Regions from separate parts of the Homo sapiens genome. Here all the other regions are linked to region 1. Evidence: promoter capture Hi-C in 16 types of primary human blood cells and fetal thymus (Javierre and others, 2016). All regions are on one chromosome and are shown on one strand. The core of a region is centred on a gene start or on the middle of the fragment in contact, and the rest is flanking DNA. Distances in the headings are between cores, read along the strand shown. Region 1 holds the start of TMX3 (thioredoxin related transmembrane protein 3). Region 2 has its middle 160 kb from the start of MIR5011. Region 3 overlaps RTTN (rotatin). Region 4 overlaps RTTN (rotatin). Region 5 has its middle 180 kb from the start of MIR5011. Region 6 has its middle 200 kb from the start of MIR5011. Region 7 has its middle 210 kb from the start of DSEL-AS1.

The links. The method cuts DNA at HindIII sites, captures the fragments that hold promoters and counts their contacts. A CHiCAGO score of 5 or more calls a contact.
Region 2: a fragment that was not itself captured here is called in contact with the fragment with the promoter of TMX3 in region 1 in 7 of 17 cell types (total CD4 T cells, naive CD8 T cells, total CD8 T cells and 4 more); the score reaches 12.6 in total CD4 T cells.
Region 3: a contact is called between a fragment that was not itself captured here and the fragment with the promoter of TMX3 in region 1, in 12 of 17 cell types (total CD4 T cells, activated CD4 T cells, non-activated CD4 T cells and 9 more). The highest score is 24.0, in total CD4 T cells.
Region 4: a fragment that was not itself captured here is called in contact with the fragment with the promoter of TMX3 in region 1 in 8 of 17 cell types (total CD4 T cells, non-activated CD4 T cells, M1 macrophages and 5 more); the score reaches 11.9 in total CD4 T cells.
Region 5: a fragment that was not itself captured here is called in contact with the fragment with the promoter of TMX3 in region 1 in 3 of 17 cell types (naive CD8 T cells, total CD8 T cells and naive CD4 T cells); the score reaches 15.3 in naive CD8 T cells.
Region 6: a fragment that was not itself captured here is called in contact with the fragment with the promoter of TMX3 in region 1 in 1 of 17 cell types (total CD4 T cells); the score reaches 5.8 in total CD4 T cells.
Region 7: a contact is called between a fragment that was not itself captured here and the fragment with the promoter of TMX3 in region 1, in 4 of 17 cell types (naive CD4 T cells, endothelial precursors, total CD4 T cells and 1 more). The highest score is 6.0, in naive CD4 T cells.

The regions. Positions count from the first base shown.
Region 1 is chr18:68,713,608-68,716,614 of GRCh38, forward strand. TMX3 (thioredoxin related transmembrane protein 3) reads right to left here and starts at 1,501. Exons shown (of 16, transcript NM_019022.5): 1 at 1,329-1,501; 2 at 239-293. The coding sequence starts at 1,374. It also overlaps a transcript of CCDC102B not described here. RefSeq lists silencers at 1,149-1,248, 1,429-1,558 and an enhancer at 1,759-1,828. The HindIII fragment of the contact is 941 bases long and covers 1,041-1,981 here.
Region 2 is chr18:67,241,049-67,244,055 of GRCh38, forward strand. No RefSeq gene overlaps it. Among named protein-coding and RNA genes, the nearest start is that of MIR5011, 160 kb to the left of the region's middle. The HindIII fragment of the contact is 3,640 bases long and covers 1-3,007 here.
Region 3 is chr18:70,185,205-70,188,211 of GRCh38, forward strand. It overlaps RTTN (rotatin), which reads right to left. Exons shown (of 49, transcript NM_173630.4): 10 at 2,904-3,007. Among named protein-coding and RNA genes, the nearest start is that of RTTN, 19 kb to the right of the region's middle. The HindIII fragment of the contact is 3,709 bases long and covers 1-3,007 here.
Region 4 is chr18:70,164,856-70,167,862 of GRCh38, forward strand. RTTN (rotatin) reads right to left here. Exons shown (of 49, transcript NM_173630.4): 13 at 2,064-2,176; 14 at 1,207-1,333. Among named protein-coding and RNA genes, the nearest start is that of RTTN, 39 kb to the right of the region's middle. RefSeq lists an enhancer at 1,353-1,482. The HindIII fragment of the contact is 1,847 bases long and covers 564-2,410 here.
Region 5 is chr18:67,261,123-67,264,129 of GRCh38, forward strand. No RefSeq gene overlaps it. Among named protein-coding and RNA genes, the nearest start is that of MIR5011, 180 kb to the left of the region's middle. The HindIII fragment of the contact is 1,149 bases long and covers 853-2,001 here.
Region 6 is chr18:67,278,130-67,281,136 of GRCh38, forward strand. No RefSeq gene overlaps it. Among named protein-coding and RNA genes, the nearest start is that of MIR5011, 200 kb to the left of the region's middle. The HindIII fragment of the contact is 1,209 bases long and covers 858-2,066 here.
Region 7 is chr18:67,300,963-67,303,969 of GRCh38, forward strand. No RefSeq gene overlaps it. Among named protein-coding and RNA genes, the nearest start is that of DSEL-AS1, 210 kb to the right of the region's middle. The HindIII fragment of the contact is 1,195 bases long and covers 816-2,010 here.

The sequences.
Region 1 (3,007 bases), core at 251-2,750:
TACAAGGTAAGATAATGAGGAAAAAAAGAATATGTAAAAGTTTGCCACAGTTTTTTGATCTCATAACTATTAATAAAACTCTTCTGGGCACACCCTCACCTTCACTTACAACAAGTGAAAAAAATGAGTGATATATAAAAATTGGTTCCAATCTAAAATATTAGAATCACATGCAAATATTCAGATATCTGAGTTGGACAGTTAAAATAATATTTTAAATATATATATGTATACTCACGATTCATCTAAATCTTCTACAAATCCTTTACAGACGACCATATCAAGTACAACAACTGAAAAAAAAAGACAAAATGTACACAATAAATGCTGATTATTTGGCTCATACCGTATAAGCTTAGTCATCTCTGAAGTGTTTTTGACCTTTCACAACCTACCAAAAAATTCATCACTGATGCATCCCAGGGTGCAAATGATGCAAAAGCAAAGGTAGTTCATCCATTTAATAAATATTTAGTCTGTATGCAACCATATCGTGACCGGCCAAGTTCTAGGTAAGCCAATAAATCTAATACACACAGTTCCTTTTTCCTCCATATTTTCACTCTCATCTTACGTCTCTTTTTAACCATCCTATCTTTTTGGAATACAAATAGACAGCATTCTTCTTTATTTCTTTTGCTTTAGTAGCAATTACCTCTTCCGTAAAAACTCCAAATGCCATTCAAAATATTTCCCCTCAAATAGATACGTAGGAAGAAAGTCGAGCTGCAACTCTAATACTTATTACACGGCAGTGCCTGACACAGAGTGGGCTCTAAAAGGTTGTTAAGTGAGCGGACCCCAGTGAGAATGAGGGCACTCCATGCTGACGGGAGGCAGCTGAGAACCGCTGACACACACTCAGGTCCTTTTCACACCGCACAATCCCGGCGGCCTGACCCTGATCTGTCCTCGACCACCCTCTCTTGAGTACTGGTGGTAAAAATCCTTAAACGTGACAAGACTCGGAACCTAAAGCCAAGGCAAGATTTGGTCGTTAAGCTGGGACGGCGGCATCCTTCTTGCCCATCAAAGGAGTAAGCTTTATTGAAACTTCTGCCACAATGAGAAAAACACAAACACAAGGCAGCGCGCCCTTCCCACGTCCAGCATTGGTCCGGCACAGCGGCGGCGGAAGGACCCCAAGGTGTCCGCTCCGTCAGGGCCAGGCAGGGTGGCGCGGCGGGGGCGGCAGGACGCTGCCGGGAATGGGTGGGCATCTCCACGAACCCCGCAGGCCTCGCCCCAGACCCGGGTCCAATCCCGGCCCCACGGCGGGGCCAGGTCCCACGCGCCCGCCAGCGTCCCGACCGCTGAGCCCCCATTACCTGTGGCGCAGAGCCGCAGGGCCGTCCAACTCTTCCACGCTGCCATGCTAGCCCGGGAGAGCTGCAGAAGCTGACTGTGCAAAAGAGGGATAAAGACACTGGGGTCCGCCGCCTGCCCGCCCGGAAAGGGAAACGGAGCCGACCCGGAGCGGAAGAGAAGCACCGCGCTAACTACGGGGGCGGGGCTACCCGGCCAGTCTCCGTCTCCGGCTATGCGCGGGAGTGCGGCGCATGCGAGGGGAGTGCGGCGCATGCGACAGCGCCTGCGCAGTCATGTCTTAAGAATCCTTTGCGCTCTCGGTGCCCCCCTCCACGCCCAGGAGCGTGGGAACCCTGCTTAAGGGCTTTACTAGGGAAAACGGTGCTGGTTCACTGGGGCGCGTTTCCGGGAAGGTGAATACCGGTGAAAGTTATGCTGAGGGTGAGGTAGGCTCTGACGACGCACTTGCAGGTTGAATACTGGCACATCATTTACTTGTTACTCCCGTGTGGTGAGTGCACCTGTGGGTTTTGATGCTGGATCAAATTCCTGGAAAGAGGCGCGCATTAAGACTGCGGATTGCTGAGCTGCGCGACACTCCGTATTTTTCCAAAACGTATTTGTAATATTCTTTCAACCTGTTTGCATAATGGGACATCTCTTAAATGCAGCAAGCTTTAATGCATTTTTGCCAAAGTAAGGATTGCCTCTTTAAAAACTTTCTCTTGAAACTTGAGAACATGAAGTTAAGCGTAGGATATTTTTTGATGGCTCTTTTCTGATTATTTTGGAACTAGATAAAGTAGTATGAAATATTTATATTGCTACCTGTTTTTTCTTCTATACGACAATGATTTGTAAAAACCATATACTTTTATAAGACGGTTACTGCAGCAATCACTACTTACGAACTAGATGAAATTTTTATGGGACATAAGGTACCAGAGAATTTAGATCAAACCAAATTTTGAAAACCTGTGACAACAACAGAAGGGGGATATGATGTCAGCCGGTTCACCTTAGGTTCAAAATTCCAACAGGCAAAAATGTCATAAAACGTCGTTATTCCTAGTGACTAGAAGATTAAATTGCACTCTAATTGAGAGCAAGCCCTAAATGTCACCCCCTTTGTGCATGCAGCATGGTATCCAGCGCAAGCCCTCTACAGATTCAATTTTTCTTTTTCTTTCTCTTTTCCTTTTTTTCTTTTTTTTTTAAGAAAAAAGTAGACTAAAACGTAAGGGGACTGTTGAAATGATGGGAATGTTCTCCCGGTGGTGGTGGAACAGCTTTATAATAGTACCATCGCCTCGATACTCTTATACAGAAGCTTTTCTACTTTCTTGGCAAGGTCTCTGAATGACCCATATTCAATTTTTTTTTTTCATTCTCATGTATTTCAAAGTTTTCTGTCTTCCACAGCATGCAAAGTGAAATAATTTCCTCTTATATTTGCGTTACAGTTTAAGTTCACATGTGGACAACAACAAAAGCCAGTTGACCTAGATCTGTGCTTTTCAGTAGTGTAGCCACTAACCACATGTGGCTATTGAGCTTTTGAAATGTGCCTAGTGTGATGAAATAACTGAATATTTATTTTTTTTAATTTCAGTAAACTCAAAAACTGACACTCGATTCAGCTATTGGAAAGTTTTTTTAATGTGGTTGGAACAACTGAGGTATGTGAATCTACTTTTTC
Region 2 (3,007 bases), core at 368-2,867, 1.5 Mb before region 1:
TAATTTTTGCTAGGTGCCAGCATTGTATTATGAATTGACAGGAAGAGAAGAATTCAATGTATGATGTTGCTGATACACATATTCATGCATCTATAATTTATTTTAAAGGCAGGAGTCACCAGCCAACACTATAAATGCCAAAAAGGGTGCAGCCTGGTGGCAGATTTTATGCTTCATCCTATAGACTGCACGCAGTCCTTAAGCATCTGTCCAGTATCAAACTTTCCAGAGCTTTTTAGGTAGCCTACACTCCCTAAAGTGACAACACTGCAAAATACAATCTACACTTCCTCCTCTCTATATTTTAGTATAGAATGATCAGAATCTTAACAGAAAAACACCACTCTGGGGCTCAGTCACATCTTTGCAAGTGAGGCAGTCGTCTTAGGTGGTCTTCCTTATTCATTTTAGTGCTGCTCACATATCAGCTAGGTTTTTCTCAGAATCATTTTATCTCTGGTTGCTGTTACCCACAATCAAACAGTTATTTGAAAGCAAAGGAAGTCAATGTGATGAAATATCTTGCTGGGTACACCAATGATTTGAAGTGAGAAAAAACAAATCTGGGTAATACACTCACAGTTTCTCCTATTACAGAAGACAACAGGAAATTAGGAAACATTCTGTTCTTCTTTCCAGTGTCTTACAAGGAGACAAATTAGCAAATATTTGTGAAGAATTTAAAAAATATATTTTATAAATATGGTTATATTTATGTACATGGACATTTTTAACATGATCCATTCAAGTGTTTTGTGGCTCTAGAAATTAGCCAATTAGAGAAAATGGGAAGTGTAGGGGCATATACTTAGGAACTTGCAGGAGACAACACTTTCTGACTTAGAAGGGCTGTGTCATGAATTGGCTGGCTCTGGATCATCATCCAGGTACAGTTTTAAAAAGATACAACAACCTTCATTTAGGTCAGTCAACTGAACATGAGGTTTACTTGCCATCAAGTACCCTACATAGAGGCTGAACAAAATGATGAAAAAATCCAGGTCAAGTAGTATTGAAATGCCAGATGAATAGCTTATTGCGTATTGCATATTCAGTAGAGAAGTATGGGATAGTAGGTCAGCAGTGAGAATCTTGTTGGTAGGCCTACGATGAAGAGTGAGTCGATCCTAGAAAGGATATCAGAGACCAAACCTACATACCAGCCTCACACCTGCTACATAGGGATTGGATGATTCAGGATAGGGATGCTAGAGGCTACTGGTCACTAATCAGTCATCAGATTCTCTTCTTTTCACACTGAGTACTTGTTAATCCAATAAAAATGAATTAAGTTATTGCTAAATGCCTTATCTGACCAATATCAAGGGGAATATGGTAACTAATTATAGCCTCCAGTGGCCCCACCTGTTTAAACTACAAAAGATTGGGACAGTAGCAGGGAAAATGACTTCTTAAAGCAACTTAGTATTGCGTCCTGTTCAATAAAAGAAGCATTTTCACAAGGCCCCAGAGCCAATTTCATTGATGATTAAATGATCAATGGTAAATTCAGCATTCGTTGATCAGGCCCTATTTCACTAGGCCTATCAGCAGAATTTATCATTACTGATGTCTCCCTCTTCATTGGCATACTTTCTTCTCTTGGTGTGTAGAGTTCTAAAATCTCTCCTGACTCTGGTACCTCTTGTTTGTTTGTTTTTAATCTCATTTGCTGATGTATCACTTTCTACACGACCTCTTTATTGCCAGCCTGTGCCAGAATTCAATCCTTGGTCCTTTTCTCATTGGTGTCTTTATCCAGCTATTTGATGTTCTCCTTCAGCCTCATGGCTTCACACTGACATGTGAATGATTCATACCTGTAAATATCCACTCTACCTTTTAAACTCCAGACTTGCATAGCCAACTGCACATGTATCCTCACTCCTTAAAATGGTAATGGACATTAAAAACTCAAAGTGTTCAAAACTCAATGGAACCTTTCCCAGCACATTTTTCCATTTCCTCAGACTAAAATCATTAGAGTTATTATTGACTTACACTTTTATTTCCTGATCTACACACATGTTACTTCCATAAAATTCTGTTGGCTATAACTATATAAAGAATCTGATCTCTTCTATCCACATGAAATACTATAACCTTGGTCCAACCTAATATCAGCTCTCAACACTCAAAATGTTTATAATGTCAGAATATTATTTAGAAATGTATGAATACTATAATTATTTTTTTGTGTATACAATGACAACATCTGGGTTTTTTTCTGACATAATTGGTTCCTCTGAAAGCCCATATATATATATATATATATATATATATATATATATATATATATATATATATGTATTTATATGTATTATTTATACATGTATATACACATACCCACACATATATACCCACTCACATATATACACATATATACATATAAATTGAATATATACTTATATTTATTAAATAATTAATAAATGGGCATTATTAGTCTCATATTAAGTTATAAGATTTAGATGCAAAAGTTTAATTAGTAGAACTGGGGAGAGAATCATCAGAAATTCTCATACAATTCATAACCATAAAATTTGAGATTAACTAAGTATGGACAGCAATTGTAATTTTCAGTCTCAAACCCACTGTTGTAGGCAGAATAATGGCCCCCTAAAGATGCCTGTGTTCTAATCCCTAGAGCCTGCAAATATGCTATGTTACATGGCAAAGAAGAATTATGGTTGCCAATGGAATTAGGATGCAAATCCACTGACCTTAAAACAAGGAAATGTTTCTGGATTATCTGGATGAGTCCAAGTGTAATCTCAAAGGACATTTAAAGTGAAAGAAATAGGTGGGAAAAAAGGTCAGAGACAGAAGTTTGCAGACACTAAACTTCTGACTTTGAAGTTGTAATCAGAGGGCATCAGCCAAAGAATGCAGGTAGCCTCTAAGAGCTAGAAAAGGCAAGAAAAACAGATTCTCTTCTAGAGCCTCAAGGAATAAACATAGTTCGGCTGTCTGCTTTCTTTTTACCCTAGGAGACCTAGTTCAGACTTTT
Region 3 (3,007 bases), core at 358-2,857, 1.5 Mb after region 1:
TTAATCAAAGATATAAAACCTAAAACATATGTAATAATTCTAAAAGAAAGCATAGGAAACACTCTTTGTATTCCAAGTTAGGCAAAGATTTCTTAGATAAAATATCAAAAGCATGATCCATAAAAGAAAAACTAAGAAACTGAACCTCATCAAAATTAAGTTTTTCTGCTCTTCAAAAAGCTAAATGATCATCTCAATAGAGACAAAAGATTTGGCAAAATACAATAATCATTCATGATCAAAACTTTCAACAAACTAAGAATACATGGAACTTCCTCAACTTTATAAAGGCATCTACAAAATACAAATGTACTAGAGCTAATCTTGTATTTAATGGTGAAAGATCGAATGCTTCCCTCTAAATCATGAAGAAGGCTCTCACCACATCCATCCAACATTATACTAAGGCTTCTAGCCAGGGCAATTAGGCAATTTAAAAAAATTAAAGGTATCCAGAGTGAATAGAAAGAAATAAAACTGTCTTTATTCACAGATAAGATGATCTTAAAACTGTTTTTATTCACAGATAACAAGATTTTATAGATAGAAAATCCTAAGGGATCTACCAGAAAACAAAACAAAACAAAAAAAACTACCAGAACTAGTAAGTTCAGCAAGGCCACCAAATAGACGATCAATACACAAAAATCAATTGTATTTCTATATACTAACAATGAGCAATCCAAAAACTTTTAAAATTTTCATTCACAATGGCATTGAAAAGAATACTTAAGAATAAGTGTTTTTTTAAAAAAAAACCTAGACTTGCTCTCTAAAAATTACAAAAGATGCTCATAATCATCAGTCACTAGGGAAATGCAAATTAAAACCCACTAAGATACCATTGCACATCTATCAGAATGCCCTCTCCCCCCCAAAAAAAAAAAAAAAACTGAACATAATAGATGTTGAAGATGTGGAACAACTGGAATGTCCATAGGAATGTTATTTGTAATAACTAGAAACAACCCCATTGTCCACCAACAGGTGAATGGATAAACAAATTGTGGTATGTCCACACAATGTAATACTACTCAGAAATAAAATGAATAAACTACAGTAAGCCTTCACTTAACTTGGTCAACAGGTTCTTGGAAACTGACTTTAATGAAACAGCATTACAAGTTCCATGCCATTTCACTAAATGCTGATGAGAAAAAATAACTGGGTTTGTTATAAGTCAGTTTGCTTAAAGTCACAGTTTCCGAAAACCTATCTATGATGCCAAGTGAGGAACTGCTGTACTACTACATAAACAACATGGCTCAGCCGGGCGCGGTGGCTCGCACCTGTAATTCTAGCACTTTCGGAGACCAAGGCAGGCAGATCACTTGAGGCCATTCTACCATAAAGACACATACATGTGTATGTTCACTGCTGCACTATTCACAATAGCAAAGACATGGAATCAACCTAAATGCCTATCAATGGGAGACTGATTAAGGAAAATGTGGTACATACACACCAATGAATACTATGCAGCCATAAAAATGCATGAGATCATATCCTTTGCGGCAACATGGATGGAGCTGGAGGCCATTATCCTATGCAAACTAATCCAGAAACAGAAAACCAAATACACATATTCTCACTTATAAGTGGGAGCTAAACAATGAGAACACATGGACCCAAAGAGGGGAATAACAGACACCAGGGATTACTCGACGGCAGAGAGTGGGAGGAGGACCACAAAAATTACCTATCGGGTACTAGGCTTATTACCTGGGTGACAAAATAATCTGTACACCAAACCCCCATGACACAGTTTACCTACATAACAAACCTGCACACGTACCGCTGAAGCTAAATAAAAGTTTTTTAGAAAAACAGCATGCCCACTTAAATAAATCTACCCTAGAGACATACCTGCACATTTATGAAATAGCATAAGCCCATTATTCTTTGTACATAATTTATATTAACAATAATATCCATCAAGAGACTAGGTTAACAAATACACAACGAAGCATTTGCTACCTATAAAAAAGAACGAGAAAATCTCACGTATAGATAGATAGGGAATAATCCTCATACCTACTATTCTATGCACATAAGACGTATTTTTAAGTTATAAAAACAGGGTGCAAAACAGTGTCTATAATATACCACCTTTTATGCAGGATGGGGAGAGGATAAGAATCTACATACTTAGTTGCTTACATTTGCAAAAATAAAATAAAAATAGAAAAAAATAGCCAGAAAATAAAAATGACTACCAATAAGGAAAACATCTTAAAGGTAACTGGATGGGAGAGAGGCATCTCTGAGCTACATTTTTATGAAGAAAAAACAATTCCCAATAGTGAAAACAAACAAAAAAAAATCTAACTGTATGCTGAATGGGTAACGGTAGCTTTAAGGCACAGTATTTTGACTGTATATCCTTAGTGAGATTAGTCTATCTCAAAAAGAACTGCCAGGAAATCTTGAACTTTTCATTAGAATTGTTCATAGCAATGTTAATATTGCTGTTCTGAAACTATCTTATGTATGTTTAAGGTCAAAGCTAATAAGCAATTATGCTGATATTGCTAGGAACGAAGACTTTCTACAAGCGCAAGGATAAGAAATACAAATTTAAAATAAGAAAAATAGCAATAAACTCACGATCTTTAAAAATACGTATTTCCTAATTGTTCCTGAAAGAAAAGAATGATATCACAGTAGCTATAACCACCTCTAATGGCCTGGTTTTGGTCTTAATATACGTTCCACTATTAGAAGTAACCAGAACCTTTGGAAAAATAGGCCTGTTCCAGGCTATTTATAACATAAGCCTGGGACATATTGAGTCAAAAAGAAAAAAGATTTTGAACACGAATGAGACAATGAAACCGGCTTAAAAGAACCAAAATCTTAAAAAATACTATTCCCTATATCCCAAAGAAAACATTGATTCTTACCATATCTATACCAAAAAGGCTGCTGTCATCCCAGATATCTGTTGAAATTGCTTCACCAATAAGTGTCATATCCTCTGTAAGCAATTCCAGAACTCTTATTATCA
Region 4 (3,007 bases), core at 237-2,736, 1.5 Mb after region 1:
GGAGACATATTTTAATGAAACCGCAGGGCACCACAGAAAAGGAAAATATTTTAAAACAAACTAGAGAAAAAAATTAAAAGAAATCATAATTAACTGATATCAGACTTCTCAACAATGATAGAAGCCGAATAAGAATTAAGCAATACTGGCAAAGTGCTAATAAAAACTAGCAGTCAACCTGTATTTTATATGCAGCCAAATTACTATTCAAAATAAAGTGAAATCATGACATTTTCAAACGTATGCACACAGTCACAGACTGTCACTGAAAATACTGAAAAACTTACTTCAATAAAAAGGAGACTGAACCTAAATATTTATCATTCAATAAAAGGAAGTATATTCAAACTTAATAGCAGTTAAGGTGAATGAACTAGGCAAATCTCAAATCCTGCTATATATACTAATCATGCTATATATAAAATTCTTTAAATTATTTAAAGATAATATTTATATATAAAGATACAGCTTTATAAATAATATACAACAACTGGATGGGAAGAATATACACCAGCTGTGTAAGAGTGGCTAGGCTATGCTGGTGGGAGAAGAGAAAGCAAAGAAGCTTCCTCTATAACTAGTATTTTTCTTTGAATAAAAATGAATCAGAAGTAAAAATGGCAAAATGTAAACACTTATTATAACCAAATAGTACTTACAAGAGTGTTAAATACAAAAGGACACTTTCAAGAGTACGCAGTAATATATATACTTTTAAATATTGTCCTATGTACAGTGTTCTTTTCAATATTGAAATATTTAATATTCTATGCTGAAATATTTTATCATTTAAGAAGACAGAAAAATAAATATTTCAAAAGAAAAGAAAAATAAAAAATAACATTAAAAAAAACAGAATTAAAACCATAAAATCTAGGCCACAACAACCTAAAAGGTTTCCTGGGCATAGAAATCACTTTTGAATACCTGGAAATCAATTTTCCTTATAATTTTTCCATCATTAATACAACATAAATGTAATTCTTAATAAAACTTCAAATAAAGCAATTCAATTGCTGGACTTACTAAGTTAAGAGAATTTAATAGTACAAATTTTCCAGAATTGACTAGTAATTATCATCTACTTTTATGGGATATAGTTCTTATATCTCATACAAAAGGTCAAGTAAATTAAGTTTGAAGGTATAACAAGAGAGTCTACTATTTGTTCTCAAAAACAAAACATACGAAAAAACAAAACCTCACCTTCGTGATTTCCAGACAGCAGTGGTAAGTTTCAGCTTTCACTCGTGGCAATGGGTGAGACAACATATGGAGAAGCACCTTCTGACTTTCTCCTTGTAGTAATGGACTGGCCTGAGCAGATTTCCAGCTGGTGAAAAGGTAAAACAACCAAGACATGTGAGGCAAGTAAGTTAGTAAGCAAAAGACTGCAAAGCATACTGGAAGGGATTTCTTCCTACTCCAACTCCTCAAACTGAGATCTTATTAAAAATAACCAATACTAGCAAGTACTCACCTAAGCACTTATTTGTTTCAGGGCAGAGGAGGTTCTGTCTTAAAGAGTATTTTTAAAAACCCAAAATGTCTTTAAAATCCCCTACTCAGTTAATGATTATCACATCACAGAATTTATTCTTTCCAAAAGCAATAAAGACACTAAGTTCTAAATAGAAATTTGCTGATGTCCTCAAAATAAATTAACCAATACACAGTCTTTTCTAAAAATCCACATAAGAAAAAGGTACAAAGTAATAAAAGTTACAAAACTCTCAGTTTAAGTTATTAATTAAAACTTTAAAGATAAATAAACAATGTGTGTGAATAGTCTGGATGGATACCAAAAACAAATGTATAAAAATCCAAGGATTATTCATTTTGATTGTAGGCATGACATTTTTGAAGTTTAATCTTGAATATAACAGTTAAGTATCCTAATGCAGCTGTACATATACCCTTTAAAAATCAGACACATATAAAAGCAATTAAACTAAAAAATAATAACAAAGATATACAGTCAGTTTCACTTTCACTGTTTCTAAGTTTACACACACCCTAAGTGTCCAATAATAACGTAATCACATTAAGAAAGAAAATATTACATCTTTGAACAAATGCTGATGATTTCCTTTATTAGCGGGAAATGCTGATGATAGGAAAAGCTACGCAAGGCTTGGTCTGCCAGCTCCACTAATTCTAAGAGATTCTTCTCTCCCTACAAAAGAAGCAGAATGGAACAATAAATGTCAAGTTCATGTGCAATGATATTCTCAACAGCTAACTAAGCAGCTTCAAGAAATTAGACCATTCAGAGACCATGAGACTGTTTACATTTGTTTAAGTCCACTTTCTCATCAAGCAACCTAAAAATGTCAGCCGAGGTGGAGAAATGTAGGAAAATTCCCTAGCTAAATGCCACATGAGACTTTCTATTATTTAACTCTGAGTAAGCTTAAAGTTACAATCAAGTTGCCTGGTTCTTTGATTACTTCTTTGTAGCTCTACCTCCCCTAATAAAAGTAGGGCTAATGTATTTATTTTATTATAAACCTGCCTCTTGTAGCAGCCTGACCACTAGGAACACACAGGACATTGAACACATGTGTGATTAACTGACCACACAAAATGCCACAGAGGCCAGACCCAGTGGCTCCCAGCACTTCGGGAGGCCGAGGCGGGCAGATCACTTGAGGTCAGGAGTTCAAGACTAACCTGGCCAACATGGCGAAACCCCGTCTCTACTAAAAATACAAAAAATTAGCTGGTTGTGGTGGCACGAGCCTGTAATCCCAGCTACTTGAGAGGCTGAGGCGGGAGGTGGAGCTTGCAGTGCGCCAAGACTGCACCACTGCACTCCAGCCTGGGAGACAGAGTGAGATTTCGTCTCAAAAAAAAAAAAAAGCCACAGAAATACTTCAACTTAAAGACACAATTCAAAATTCTATCACAGAGAAAACAAGAAGACAGTGGTACTAACATGGCAAAAGGAAAGGGGAAAAAAAACAAACTACAGTGGTAAGTAAGAAAAATCATAAATATCAAGTTC
Region 5 (3,007 bases), core at 177-2,676, 1.5 Mb before region 1:
TGTCTCTGTGGTTGTAGAACTGAGGTCCTCATAGACCTGAGGTCTCCACTTTTATGCTGGTTGTCAGGGGATCAGCCTTTGCTCCTCGAAACTGCCCACATTTCTTCTTATGCTTTCCATGTGGCTCCCTCTAGAAACAGTAGGTGACATAAAATTCATGCTTCAAACCTCTTGGTTTCTTCCCTTTCTACTGTATCTCTCTAACTCCAGCTGGAAAAACGGTTTTGTTTTGTTTTGTTTGCTTTTAAGAGCTCATGTGGTTAGATTGGGCCCACTGAGATAATGTAAGGTAATCTCTATTTTAAGGCCCCTAACATTAAATCTAAATGCAAAGTCCCTCTTTTCCCCAGGTACTGTGATGTCCTCACAAGTTCTGACTATTAAGATGTGACACTTTGGAGAGGTCAGTATTCTGACCAGCACATAAATACCTGATGAGCAACTCTTGATTACAGAGACTACAGTGAAAGTACTATTTTCAAGTGATGAAGGGGTATAAATAGATTTTTAACCATCACGGTAGTTTTTCATAATTTGTGGAATAAGGGTTTGCATGGGAAGAGGAGAAAATGATTTGGGGGTTGGCGAACAGAAATTCAGAATCACATGGGTAGAAGAAACCTGGATAGACTATGTGGGTGGAGCTAGATAACTTTCTACACTCCATTGAATTAAATGTTTCACAATATTTCTCAAAATGTAAAAAGCATTACCAATATCACAAAGTAATTAATAAGATTTAAGGGCTCAGGGAAAAAAAAGATAAAAGGAACTTGATATGCTGAAGATAGAGCAAGGCTAGCATTAGGAAAAGAGAGAAGTTATTTTGTAGTTCCGGGGTTGTCTTATTCAAGCTTGTGTTCCAGCTTAAAAAGCACTTGATTCAGCAGGTTAAACCATTTTTTGGTGCCGCTAATCTGATTTGCTCCTGTGATTTCATTGTTTTTTACAAGTTGCAGCATGCTTCACTTTGCATTTTCACTTTCATAAGATGACTGCTCTGTAACTTTCATTCTCTTTGCCTTCATTACTTGGTATACTTGCTTGAATAGGAAAGATTTCTCCCTTATGTGTAGGCATATACTATTGAATTATTTGACTCATGTTAGAGTGCTGTTCTTATTTATGATAAGTCCCTCAACATAATGTCCTATCTAGAAGCTGTGAATATGTCACCTAAGGGTGATGGAGATCTCCAAATAGTCACTTTCCAGAGCTGTAACTGGCACTTGTTTTAAATTGGTATGATTATGTCTAAGCCATGCAATTTGAAAGAATGGTACGGACACATAGACACTTTCCATTGCTTTTATGCTTTTTTTTCTATCATAGATCCACACATCATTTTTTATGTCTTGAGTGAATATGACAGCTGTGTGATTTCTTTTTCTTTGTGAAGCCAATTAATCTGTCTACACTTCTGGGCTTTTAATTTTTTTTTTTTTTTTTTTTTTTTTGCATATGCCTTTTCTTTCTTTTCTTTTTCTTTTCCTGATCAAGTTGTTTACATTCTCAGAATGTTTGTCTTAGATCTTCATACTTGTCTGATTTTCTAATTACTTAGCCTTTTATCCCAGCTTCCTGTTTAGGGTTTACTAATAATCAGCTCTCTAGACTCAGTCTGTGATTTAGCCTGTTCTCGTCACACATGCACTGAAATTATTTGAGGCACATTCAACAGCACACTTAAAAGAAGCAGACAAAATAATCCCGAAAAAGTCTCAACATTGATTTTGTACTCTGTAAAGGTTTACAAGAGCTTAATGTGAATGTTTGGAAACCTAAGGACATCAGACGACTAATTGTTTCAAGCGATACTTATAAGGAACAGATAAAAACAGACACAAAGAAGGGGATCAGAAGTCATTTGTAAGGATATATGAAATCGACTGATGTGCCATACTGATGTAGATTTCATAGCAACTTGTCTGCAAGACCTCATACTTCATCTCCATGATGAAATTCAGTTACAAAAACTGTTAAAGTGAGACAACTTATATAAGCTTACGGGTAGTGGGCTCAGTAAAGGTAAATGTTGGTGCACTTACCTTTGCCTTACTAATTGGAAAAATCAATTAAATAAAACAACACGTATTCATTTAGTAAAAATTTATTGAGTGTATTTGCTACAAAATACATTTAGGTCAATTTTCAAGGTTGCAGGTAGTATGATTGAAGTTTAACCATGAGAAAAATATACAGTTTACATAGATCAGAATATCAAGGTACTTTTTAAAGATATCATTTTAAGAATAAGAAGTTATTGTATATACAAGGAATATTCCTTGCATGGAATATACGAGGAATATTCCATGCATGGAATATACGAGGAATATTCCTTGCATGGAATATACGAGGAATATTCCTTGCATGGAATATACGAGGAATATTCCTTGCATGGAATATACGAGGAATATTCCTTGCATGGAATATACGAGGAATATTCCATGCATGGAATATACGAGGAATATTCCATGCATGGAATATACGAGGTATATTCCTTGTATGGTATATACGAGGAATAAATATATTTTATAGGAAGTAAAGTATGGAAGGAAAACTATGCTTTACTTCCTATAAAATTTTTGTGAACTATACTATCAAAAAAGTTGTCTAACATGCAGCACCTAAAATAAAACAAAATCATAGTAAAATAGATTACTCAATTAATTTCAGTTGTATCTTATTATTCTTAGATATATCTCATATTTAATATAGAATTTCATAATGACAATGTCTTTAAGATGATATTAATTTTAAAAAATTGATAGATAATTTGACCCAGCAATCCCACTTCTGAATATCTACTCACAGGAAAATAAATCATTATATAATAAAGACACATATGACCTATACTCATATGCTTGTAGTGGCACTATTCACAATAGTGAAGTCATGGATTCATGTCCATCAATGGATAACTGGATAAATCAAATGTGAAATATATACATCATGGAATACTCCGCAGCCACACAAAAGAAGGATATCATGTCCTTTGCTGCAACCT
Region 6 (3,007 bases), core at 212-2,711, 1.4 Mb before region 1:
GTAAAATAGAACATTTGATTGTTTTTACTTTGATCCAAGTTACAAAAGAGCTGATAAACTAGTAGCTAAAATCAATGGAAATGAAAAGCAGTTTTATTTTGGAAGGGATAACAGAAAGGTTATTTCTAGCTGGGCAGCAGCAGCCTGCATGTCAACATTGCTGAACAGATGTAGAGAATTTGTGAGTAGAGATGCTATGGAAGAGCTGGTAGTTTGATTGTTTTATTTAAAATTTTTCAAAGAATTATGAGTGTCACAAGGCTGTGAGATATTTCTGACAAAGTATAAAATATTTCACTATGCTTGAGAATGATGTAATGTGCACTAATCAAATGCTGAATATATATAAAAAAGATGGAACAGAAAAGATAGTATATTCAAGTTCAAGCTGAGTGTAGCTGCTCAACGTCCTTATCTTGTTATTATTTCCATTTTAATTGAATTGCTTGATTATGCTTCATATTGAATTGCATAGCAGAAATGAGGCGATTTTTGCGTGAATGTGGGGAAGCAAATATACTCACTAATGTTACCTGATCATGAGACATATATAATAATTTGACCCTTTTTATCATTTTGGTCACATGTTTTTATTTCTTTTTATTTCCCAAGAATCAGAGCCTTGAACAGAAGTATTCACATATGTAACATGTTTTCTACCTTTATATAGTAGAAATACTGTATGCTTCAGCAGCATACAGAAAACCGTTACCTACAGAACACCTGTCTAAGTAATAAAGGAAAGTCGGATTAAAAAAAATGTGTATTAAGAAAATTGCATAGCCTGAGTCTTAAAACCACCTAATAAACACCGGCTATACTGAAACGTTTGAGGCATGGTTGTTATTCTCAATGAAAGCTTTTTAGAATTTATAAAGATCTGTGCAACCTCAAGTTACTCATGAGGCAAAGAAGCATCATAACACCAACATTACATGGTTGATTGAGAATAAAATGAAGTACTATATGTATGTGGTGTACATTCATTTCTTTCTTCTAATACTTAAATACATATTGCAATAAAATTCATTTTTTTTAAATTAATGTATCTGACTAACATTCGCTTTGCCCCACCTATGGGTCTATTATGGTATCTATTGAAACGGATATATTTTTTAAAATCCTTGTGTTCATTAAAATGTTTGGGGTATTTTTCTTGTTTGTTTTCATTCATTCTATATTTCAAATATGTTGCAAGGTAGGCATTCACAACACAATGGAAAAAGAGAAAGATTTGGCAAAGAAAGTACCAGCTCAGAAATATTAACTACCTCAACTCCACGGAGGTAGAAATGGTGAAAAAAAAGAAAAAGAAAAAAAAAGAACAGCCTACAAGGAACAACCACCACCTCACTAGAGATCTGTCATTTAATGAATGAAATCAAAACACAACAGAACACTACCTCCTCTGGTTAGGAGCTAAATCAAGGGGGCTGGACATTTGTCATGTTCCAGTCTTGGAAACTCTCTTTGACTCAGTTTCCTCATCTGTGAAATATGGATACTTTTAACTACTTCAAAGAACTGTTTTGTGGAGCTGATATTTGTTGATATCATATACTGGCCTAAGAAACAGACCCAGTAATGTGTGGGTTGTGACTGCCCTGGACTCTTCTTGACAGCAGAAGACACTGTTTTCTTGTTAATAAGCTGCAATTGCCTGCGGGACTAAAATCATGCCTAGCCCACAATAGGAATTCTATAAGCATTTGTTACATGAATGAAGAGATAAAGAGGAGTGACTGGTAATCTTTTCTCCCTAGGAAGACGTTAAAACACCCAAGCAGAGTGAAGGAGATTTAAAGAAAAAATAGAACTTTCAATATATTCTTGTGGTTATCTCTAGATTCCACAGCCTTAGGAGAAAGAAAACAACAACAAAAAAGGCCATCACTTTTTCCATTTATCATTTGTCGGGTTCTCCAACTCAGGTTATCATGGTGAGAAGAGAAGCAGAGATGCATTCTGTTTATTAACAAAGACGTACTACTCACTGGCTCTTCTCTCCATTGCAAACAAAGTGTGACAAATGGAATGCACAGTAAAAATTTAAATATTTAGTATCAAGCTTGAAATCTAAATGAATAATTTATTCAAGAAGAACTAGACATCAAATTTATATAAGCAATGTGTTATTGCGTGGACTAGAGATATATACAAATATAAACAGATATGTGCATATATTTTATATGTGTGCATAGAGAGATAAAGAGAGATAGAGAAAGAGAGGAAGAAAGGAAGAGAGAGAAAGTAGAAGGATAAGAAGAAGGGGAAGAGGAGGAGAAAAAGGAAAGAAAGAAGAAAGACACAGTCCCATGTCTTCAAGAAATGCATTGACCATCAGGGAAAACAGACATGAATAGGCAAGCACAATAAAATATGATTAAAAGCAGAGTTTGCCTAGGGCCTGAGGAAAGGGGAAATTAACACTGCCGTGAGCATTTTATTTGTTAACCCACTTTTAAAGTTTATTTCCTGGTGAGTGATATTAAAAACACCATGCATCCTGGGTACAATTAAATCCAATTTAAAATGTATTAAGTGATACTTTCTGAAAAGTCCTTACAAATAGCTCGGCTCTAGGGGATGTAATGATCTTTAAGAAACAGCATTTACTCTGGAATTCTTGGCGTATCATTAGCACAGACATCTTACACACCTATAAGTATAGCACTAGGTATTAAAGAATGTTACCAGCAGTAACCTTTTTTAGAAATTTAGAGTGGGGATATAATAATGTAATCTGGAGGAATTCCAGGAGCTGCATGTTGATCTGGGTGGTAAAGTGTGACATATGAACAGTACTTCTGTGGCCAATATGTTAACGGACATGCAAGGGCTCACCAGATAATCTGAGCTGCCCTCACCAGCGCCAGGGATGATGCCTAATACTGATATCCAGGGGGCATCATTGAGATGTGATTTTTGTGTAATGGTGAATGTTTTTCAAGCTGTTCCCAATTTGAAAACTGCTTCCTGGCCAAAAGAGAGAGTAGGATGTAATTAC
Region 7 (3,007 bases), core at 163-2,662, 1.4 Mb before region 1:
CATGTTGCAACTGCCTATGATTTCTTGGGTGTTTTTCCAGCTACCCGCCACCTGCCCAACAACTTCCCATGGACCTCAGTGTGGGCTAGAACCTGACCAAGGGTACATATGACAAAGTAGGTACTCAATGAATATTTGTTGAGTGGATTGAAATATTAATGGAGTTAGTAGTTTAAAAGTCCTGTTCAGGAAAACTTCTTTCTTTTTCTACCTTCTACCTGATCCTTTTATGGAGTTTTCAGGCTTAGATGCATGCAGTGGAGATAGGATGGAAGAAGCTGGAATTCTTCTTTTGTTTATATTTTTGCCTCCTCAGATTCTCACTAGTCCAGTACCTCTCATACCTCTTTGTGTATCAGAATTCACAGAACTTTACCCACACTTTCAATTTTAACTTATCAGGCTTAGGTATTTTATAAAGTGCCTCAGGGCCTTGGTTTTAATAGGTATTCAGCAAAAAAAAAAAAAAAAAAAAAAAAAAAAAATCATGTCCATTACCAAGATCCTGAGTCAGGCTGAGGGGCCCTGCATTAGGGAATGTGAACACTTTTGCAAATCCAGAGCAACTGGAATCTAGAGTTCATTCCCTTAGGAGATGAAGAAGTCACAACTGGCTGGATCTATCAGTCCTGGATCCCTCTCTGAGGGAACTTACAATTGTGGATTTCTGACATCCATATTCTAGGTGCTGGCTGTGGACTCCTCTCTCTGCCTCAGGCCATAAGTCATCCTCTTCACACAGACTCTCTCTCCACCAGCACCACCTCTCTCACATCAGCAGGCATCAAAATCACCTGGAGTGCTTGCGAATCACAAGCTTCTGATTCAATCATCTGGGTTAGGGCCCAATAATTTGCATGAATAACAAGGTCCCAGTGGATGCTGCTGCTGCTGGTTCACAGACCACACTTTGAGAACCATTACTCTAAGTAATTTTCTAGCTATGTGTAAGTCTAACATGAATCTACTTCCTGTCACAGGTACATTTTGCCAAAATAAATCTTACAGGTTTTATACTGCAGTTGGTTTACAATACAGCCATTTTTCTCTGTTATCAACTAAAAATTCCAGGAAGTAAGTATTTTGCTTGAAGATACTTTCATCTGATGAAAGGGAAAGGTGCCTTCTTTTCTCCCTGTGGCAGTAGGGCTTTAGGAACAGAGAACACATGGAAAAGTTTTCCCAAACAAATCCTCACTCTACTGTCTACTGTCTTTACTAGGTGATCACTGACGGGGTAAAACTAGCTTTCCAATCTCTAGCTCCTTTGATATCCCAGCCAAAACAGAAAGAGAAAGTATCTCTATGAAGGCTTCTTTACACTTATCATGAGTCATAACTTTGAAAGAAACATAATAAAATAGTTTTGGCCTTTTAAAATGTCTGAATTGAATATAGACTACACCCTTGAAAATATTAAACATATTTCCTATAGTGGTCTACAAATTTTTCTTTCTGAGTTGATATAACTTATCTTTTTGTAGCAGAGTAATATCAAGGATATAAAATATTTTGTTATTACACAACATAGCATCTCTTATTTGTATTAGAAATATTAAAGAAAATTGTAATTGTAGCGACAGTTTATTTTAGACATCTTCCCATATATGCAAATTTTAAAGAGTTTGGTAGGCTCTGAGATAGATCTATCCCTTTGAGGATTTCAAGTTTTTGCATCAGAAATCTAGCGCGGTAACTCTCAAGTCCAGAGCTAAACAACTACTCTAAGATTATGTAAAAAACAAAACCAACAAACAAAAAACCACACTTACATACAAACAGGTACAGAAGACCTAAAAGTCTATTTCTTTCATAGGTGTAGCAAATTAATATGAAATTTCTGTACGCATTAGCTTTTCTTTTTGTTTCTACAAAACTTTTTCATTACTCTAAAATGAGCTACTGGATTTTATTTCCAGCCCATTTTTCTTGTGCTTTTTCAAAATTTCAAATTTCATATATCATTATATTTCAAAATTATACCTTCCTTTTTAGGCATAAAGAAGTAGAAGCTTTCAGACGGGAGCACTCATGTGCTTATTGTTTTTCATGCTTAGATTATTCTTAGTAAATAAAACTATTTTCAATCATCTTTCACTTATCTTTAAATTCAGAGGTTGACATTACAAATTATAAGCTTAAATATTTTTTCTATTCATTGCTTCTGCAATTTCATATTTCATATTCATGATAAAGACACAGTAAGACAGGACTGACCAAGGAAGAAAATAACTCAACAGATTTACTAGGAGAAATTGCATTTTCATAACTTTGAATGTCTAAGATATTAATAAAAATTAATCTGTTATTCAAGAATAATTAATGTCTGACAAAATTGGAGGAAAGTGACGGTCTCTAGGCTTCGAGGGGATTGACTGGAAAGGGACATGAAGGAAGTTTCTGGGATAATAGAAATGTTTTGTATCTTGGTAGAGATGTATGTAGTTTGCCTTATGCTTTTGAAAACTCCCATGGAACTGTATAACATCTCTAGAGTTTACTGTAAGTATTCATACTTCAGCAAAATAAAAAAATATATAAATACAGAAATAATTCTGTAAAAATCTATTACCAACATTTCTGTATCACTTTATATTTTTATATACAGTGAAGTTAAGTAAATCAACTTTTCAACAAACACCTTTTTAAGGAGAAATTGATAATGATTGAAGAAATGTTTATATTAATAAAAGTTTTAAATAATCTCACTCTCTACTAGCATTGTAATTTGAAGAATATTTTAACTAATTTTTTCTAAGGATAATTGCTGACTTTACTTGTCACTAAAACGTATATGCCTGAGAGACTGCTTATTCTTTAAGATATAAAAAGAAGTCTTTATTTAACTTTCTTAGAATCTGTTTCATTTTGACAGTCTCTAGGAAACCAAGAGATCAACACAGGAAATTATTCTAAAGAAAATTTAGAAGAAGAAAAATGTTTTTATTTATCTTGATTTCTCTGTTGGTAAGAGAACCAGATCTCTTAATGTAATTACACTAAGAAA